Linked DNA regions of Homo sapiens: region 1 is linked to region 2. The links are contacts of gene promoters, found by promoter capture Hi-C in human tissues and cell types (Jung and others, 2019). All regions are on one chromosome and are shown on one strand. The core of a region is centred on a gene start or on the middle of the fragment in contact, and the rest is flanking DNA. Distances in the headings are between cores, read along the strand shown. Region 1 overlaps LOC124904713 (a long non-coding RNA gene). Region 2 holds the start of WDR87 (WD repeat domain 87).

Region 1 (3,093 bases), core at 453-2,952, 1.0 Mb before region 2:
TTAGAAAACGGACACATAGCTCCAACATTTTCCCCTTGGAATTCTCCAGTTTTCGTAATTAAGAAAAGAATCAGATAAACGGAGAATGTTAACTGACTTAAGAGCCATTAATTCAGTTATACAACCCATGGGTACATTACAGCCAGGATTGCCTTCTCCTGCTATGATTCCAAAAAATTGGCCTTTAATAGTCATAGATTTAAAAGACTGTTTCTTTACTATCCCCTTAGCTGAGCAAGACTGTGAACAGTTTGCATTTACAATTCCTGCAGTAAACAACCTGCAGCCTGCTAAGCGTTTTCACTGGAAAGTATTGCCACAAGGCATGTTAAACAGCCCAACAATTTGCCAGACTTATGTAGGGCAAGCAATTGAACCTACTCGTTAAAAGTTTTCACAGTGTTACATTATTCATTATATGGATGATATACTTTGTGCTGCCCCCACTCGAGAAGTATTACTCCAATGTTATGATCACTTACAAAATTCGATTTCTTGCGCTGGTTTAATTATAGCTCCTGACAAAATTCAGACTACTACTCCTTACTCCTACTTGGGGACCTTAGTAAATGACACTACCATTGTGCCACAGAAAGCAACCATACATAGGAATCAATTGAAAACATTAAAGGACTTTCAAAAATTACTAGGGGACATTAATTGGATACGACCTGCTCTAGGCATTCCTACCTATGCCATGAGTAATCTATTTTCTATCCTTAGAGGAGATCCTGGTCTCACAAGCCCTCGGTAATTAACAAGAGAAGCTGAGGCAGAGCTGCGGCTAATCGAAAAGCAAGTCCATAAAGCTCAAATAAATAGATTAGATCCAGAGAAGACTCTAGATTTGCTAATTTTTCCAACTCAGCATTCACCTACTGGTGTTATTGTTCAAGAGTGAGATCTTGTAGAGTGGCTTTTTCTTCCACATACTAATTCACGGACTCTAACTCCTTATTTGGATCAAATTGCTACTATGATAGGAAATGGGAGAACTCGGATTGTTAAATTACATGGATATGATCCTGGAAAAATTATTATCCCTCTCACAAAGGCACAAATACAGCAAGCTTTTATAAATAGTCTTACTTGGCAAACCAATTAAGCTGACTTTGTGGGTATTCTCGATAACCATTTTCCTAAACAAAACTGTTTTAATTTTTGAAATTAACTAATTGGATTCTCCCTAAAATAACTAAATTTAAACCAATTGAAGGTGCTGAAAATGTTTTTACAGATGGGTCTAGTAATGGTAAAGCTTCTTATTCTGGCTCAAAAAGTAAAGTTTTTCAGATGCCCTATACTTCAGCTCAAAAAGTGGAGCCTGTAGCTGTAATTGAGGTAGTGACTGCTTTTCATATGCCTATTAATGTGATTTCTGACTCTTCATACGTGATTCATTCCACACAATTAACTGAAAATGCTCAGTTACAATTTCCTGCAGATGAACAACTGATGATTTTATTTACCCAACTGCAAACAGCAGTTAGGAGTAGAATGCACCCTTTTTACATCACTCACATTAGGGCTCATACACCTCTTCCAGGCGTCACCTTTTGCAGTGTTTTGCAGTGATGGGCATTCCAGCTTCTATTAAAACAGATAAAGCCCCAGGCTACACTAGCCGAGCTCTAGCTACATTTTTCTCTATACGGAATATTAAACACATTACTGGTATCCCATATAATTCTCAAGGACAAGCCATAGTGGAAAGAATGAATCTCTCCCTGAAACAGCAGTTGCAAAAGCAAAAAAAAGGGGGGAAAACAAGGACTACGGGACACCCCATATGCAACTGAATCTAGCATTGTTAACTTTAAATTTTTTGAGCCTGCCTAAAGGCCAGATCCTATCAGTAGCTGAACAGCATCTACAGAAACCAGCTGCAAAGACAGAAGCAGAACAACTAGTTTGGTGGAGAGATCCAATAACAAAAAGTTAGGAAATAGGTAAAATAATAACTTGGGGTAGAGGTTATGCTTGTGTTTCTCCAGGACTGACTCAACAGCCGATTTGGATACCATCAAGACACCTGAAACCTTATCATGAGCCAGATGCTGAGGAAGAGATTCCGGGAGGAAACTGAGGACCCCCCCCACCCCCGGTTGCAGCCATGTCGAGACTGACGCTGAGGAAGACCCCAACTGTCACGAGCAACACCTGTCAAACACAGCCACCCACCTGGAGACAGATCAAGAAGCTGTCACAGATGGTGGAAGAAAACCTGAGGAAAGTGGGACAACCAGTCGCAATGAGTAATTTAATGGTAGCTATGATAGCGATGATCACCACTGCCATGAGTATTCCTTCAATAAGGGCTGACACAGAGGACAATTATACTTATTGGGCATATTTATCAATCTTGGCTGGCAATAATGCCTGGATGTAATCACTCTATGACACAGTTATACAAGCTTTCTGATCTCATAATAAATCTGCTCCTATAATTGAGGCATACTGCCCTCAAAAACATATTTGTAAACAGGATTGGACCCAGTTAGCAAAAATGAACGTACTTGTTTAGGAAGATTGCTTTGCAGAACAGGCAGAGGTGCTGCACAACAATTCCTATGGAATCATTATTAATTGGTCACCTATGGGGATGTTTAGCTTGAACTGCACCTCTCAGTCTGCATGCCATGGCCACACTGTGATCAGCTCATCTGAACAAAATGGTCAGATGATAGAAATGGTAAGAAATACAGCAAGAGTTCCTATTATCTGGAACCATGGCAGTATAGTGGCACCTCAGCCTCAAATGATATGGCCTGCTCTAGGAGCTAAACATAAGCATTTGTGGAAACTGTTAATAGCTCTTAATAAAATCAAAATTTGGGAAAGAATAAAAAAGCATCTAGAAGGCCACTCTACAAACTTGTATTTGGATATTGCAAAATTGAAAGAACAAATATTTAAAGTATCCCAGGCACACGTGAACTTAATGCCAGGAACTGGAGTGCTTGAAGGAGCTGCAGACAGATTAGCAGCTAGTAACCCATTCAAATGGATAAAAACACTTGGAGGCTCTGTGATTTCAATGATGATTGTGCTTTTACTCTGTGTTGTTTGTCTTTGTATAGTGTGCAGATGCGG
Region 2 (3,178 bases), core at 503-3,002:
GATGGCGCTGGACTAGAAATACAATCTCAGCAAATCCTTACAACCCTTTGAGAGTGATCTTGTTATTATCCCATTTTGTAAATGAGGAACCTGAGGTAGTAGGAAGGGAAGTCAACTGGACCAGTTCTGAATCTGGCCCTCGGGGGTGACCAATACTACGGCCAGAGCCCCACCCTCAGAGGGTCTCTGGGCCACTAGGAAAACGCTGAATAAATGGTACCATTTACTGAGCGTTATATGCCAGCTGCTGTGCTAAGCACTTTACACATGGTATTCTCACTGCATCCTGAAAACAACTCGACGAAGTGGTTGCTATTTAAATCCCCATTTTATAGATAGGGAAACCAAGGCACAGAGAGGTGAAGCCAGTTGCCCAAAGTCACACAGCTGGTAAATGTTCAAATTTGAACCTGGGGTCTCTCTGCCTTCCAAACCAACGCTCTTAACAAAATAATCTCGGTTAACAGCAGCTAGCCTGCATTGGGTGCTAACTAAGGACTCACCTCTTTACATGCACACGCTCAACTAATCCTCACCCTATGCAATCGATAACATCTTCACCTCATTTTTCGGAGAGCTAACAATAACCCAAATACGTAGTAAGTGCCTCCTATGTGCCAAATGTTTTATTATATTATCTCAACAGAGTCTCCGCCAAGATGCTCTCCTACTCCGTTTTACTGCAGGGGAAATTGAGGTTCGGCGCGGTTTTCCCAGATCGCGGCTCCCGAGTGGCACAGCCGGGACGCGAATCCACCGCTCCCCGCCTCCAAGCTCTTCACCACAGCGCCGGGGTGCACGCCTGGAAAGTTGAGCCATGCGGGCACGAGTCCGGCTGGGTCCGGAGGGCGCGAGTCCCGGCGCCGCCGCCCCCCACGGCCAGTACCCACACCCGGCCGTCCGCCCGCGCTGACCCTCGGGGTCCGGGCAGCCACCGATTCCCCGCCACCCTTGCGCGAGGCCGATCCTGCACCCGGAGCCACGTACCTGGACGCCCCGGCTGCCCGCCTCGCGGGCCCCACGATCGCGGCGTCCAGCTCCGCGCCGCTCGCTGGAGACGCCGCCAGCTCCGGTGGCCCGAGTGACTTCCAGGCTGCCCACTTCCAAGCCGCTTCGCGCGAGTCCTCCTGGGAACTGTAGTTTCGCCCTAGCCGGCCGCGAACTCAAAAAGAGAATGGCGCGCGGGGGCTGCCGGGAGCCGTAGGCGCACCGCCGCGCTGCCTCCTAGGAACGGTAGTCCGCTGGTCGCCTTCGTGCAGCTCCAGTCTGTAGAGCACTTCCGCAGCCCCGAGGGGCGTGAGGGAGGGAGGTGTGTCTCCTGCAGACTACAGCTCGAGAGCCGCGCTCTTCGCCCCGCCGGGGCGGTTTCTCCTTTCTCCTGGCCCCGTCTACCTCCTCCCTTCATTCGGCGGAACCTCTCCCTCACTCTCTGCCAGGCTCGAGTCACTTACCCCTAGGACGCTAGCCCGGGGGAAACGGGGGAAGCGGAGCAGTGCGCTAGACCCCCAGCGGAGGGGGCGGTGGAGGAGGGCGTAGATGCACGCCCGCGCACGCGCGGTCGTCGGCAGACCCCGGCCTAAATTGCCGCGGGACCCCGCGGAGAGGATTTTTTTTTTTTTTCTTTCGAGAGCGCGCGCGCGTTCTCGCGCCGGGCGCGCGCCCATGCGCACGCGCGTTCAGACCCCTGGCCTCGGGAAGTCCGCCGGCTGCGGGGTTGGGGGCCAACCGTTCTGTGGGCGGAGTCCTCTCGCAACATCCGCCAGGTAGCTTCTTAGTTGCTGCCCCTAGCTCTAGGAGCTCCTGAGTGCACACGCCGTACCCGTCCCTTGTCGGGAATCCTGTCGCAGGTAACAGGCGCAGCCAATGCTTTGAGATAGAGACGCCCTGCCTTCCCTGCCACGTGCAGGAGGCCCGAGGGTGAGGGGCCCCAGGTGTAGTCGCCTGTCCCCGGCGTAGGCGGCTCCAGAGCTCTGCCTTCGACGGGAGCCACAAGACCCAGGGGCTGCCTAGGGGCCTTGTTATCTTGCATTCTTTTGTTGATCGCACATTCCTGAGGGTAACTAGTGTTTGTAGAGTACCTACACCTTGGGAAATTTTGTCCAAATTTAATCCACCTGGTGACATAACCAAGCAGCGGAATACCCCGCAACACACACTCCTTTTTTAAGGTATATTGCCACTCCTCCATAAGAGTTACCGAGGGAATTGACTGGAATTGCAAGGTCCTCTGGTGGAGAAGCCGGAGTCAATACCCTTTCCGCCTCAGCCTGCCTTCTAGGAAGATGTTCACTAACACTTGAAGCTGGGAAGCATATGTTTCTTCCTGGGAGAGCACATTTTTCCACTCATTCAACAAAAATGGATTAACCACCTATTCCATGTCAGGTTGGGTGATTATGGAGACACAAGAGAAATCCAGACAGACTGGACTCCTACCTTCAGGGAGTTTTCAGTCCAGTAGGGATATCAGGCCACCACCAGACTACAACAATGTAGAGCAATACTAGCTAAGAGAAATATACCCTGCACTTTGAGCCACCGAGGCAGGAGGATCACTTAAGGCCAGGAGTTGGAGACTGGCCGGGTAACATAGCAAGACCCTATCTCTACTAAAACTAAAAAACTAGCTAGGCGTGGTGGCATGTGGCCATAGTCCCAGCTATTTAAGAGGCTGAGTATCGCTTAAGCCCAGGAGTTTGAGACTGCAGTGAACCATGATTGCACCACTGCCCTCCAGCTTGGGCGACAAAGCAGAACCCTGTCTCTTTAAAAAAAAAAAAAATTATATATGTGTGTGTTTTTATGTGTAATGCAAGCCACATATGCAATTTTAATTTTGACATAAACAGGTAAAATTCATTTTATTTATCATTATTATTTACTTTTTTTTTTCTTGCTATGTTGCCCAGGCTGGTATTGAACTCCTGGCCTCAAGACATGTTCCTACCTCAGCCTCGCAAAGTGCTGGGATTATAGGCGTGAGCCATCTCACCCAGCTATGAAATTAATTTTAATATTTTATTTAACCCAAATATATCCAAAATATTATTCCAAGTTAGGTTAATGGAAAAATGTTTTCATTGCTTCAGTTCTACTTTTTTTTTTTTTTTTTTTGGAGACGGAGTCCCACTCTGTCGCCAGGCTGGAGTGCAGTGGCGCCACCTCGGCTCCCTGCAAC

What was found. Contacts are between HindIII fragments. The study calls those that stand out against the background at their distance.
Region 1: a fragment that was not itself captured here is called in contact with the fragment with the promoter of WDR87 in region 2 in 1 of the 25 tissues and cell types used here (dorsolateral prefrontal cortex).

The regions. Positions count from the first base shown.
Region 1 is chr19:38,935,754-38,938,846 of GRCh38, reverse strand. LOC124904713 (a long non-coding RNA gene) reads left to right here. Exons shown (of 2, transcript XR_007067253.1): 2 at 1,995-3,093. Among named protein-coding and RNA genes, the nearest start is that of MRPS12, 6.4 kb to the right of the region's middle. The HindIII fragment of the contact is 4,061 bases long and covers 1-3,093 here.
Region 2 is chr19:37,905,168-37,908,345 of GRCh38, reverse strand. WDR87 (WD repeat domain 87) reads left to right here and starts at 1,752. Exons shown (of 6, transcript NM_001291088.2): 1 at 1,752-1,847. It overlaps SIPA1L3 (signal induced proliferation associated 1 like 3), which reads right to left and starts at 1,138. Exons shown (of 22, transcript NM_015073.3): 1 at 988-1,138. RefSeq lists an enhancer at 427-486 and a silencer at 787-1,026. The HindIII fragment of the contact is 24,391 bases long and covers 1-3,178 here.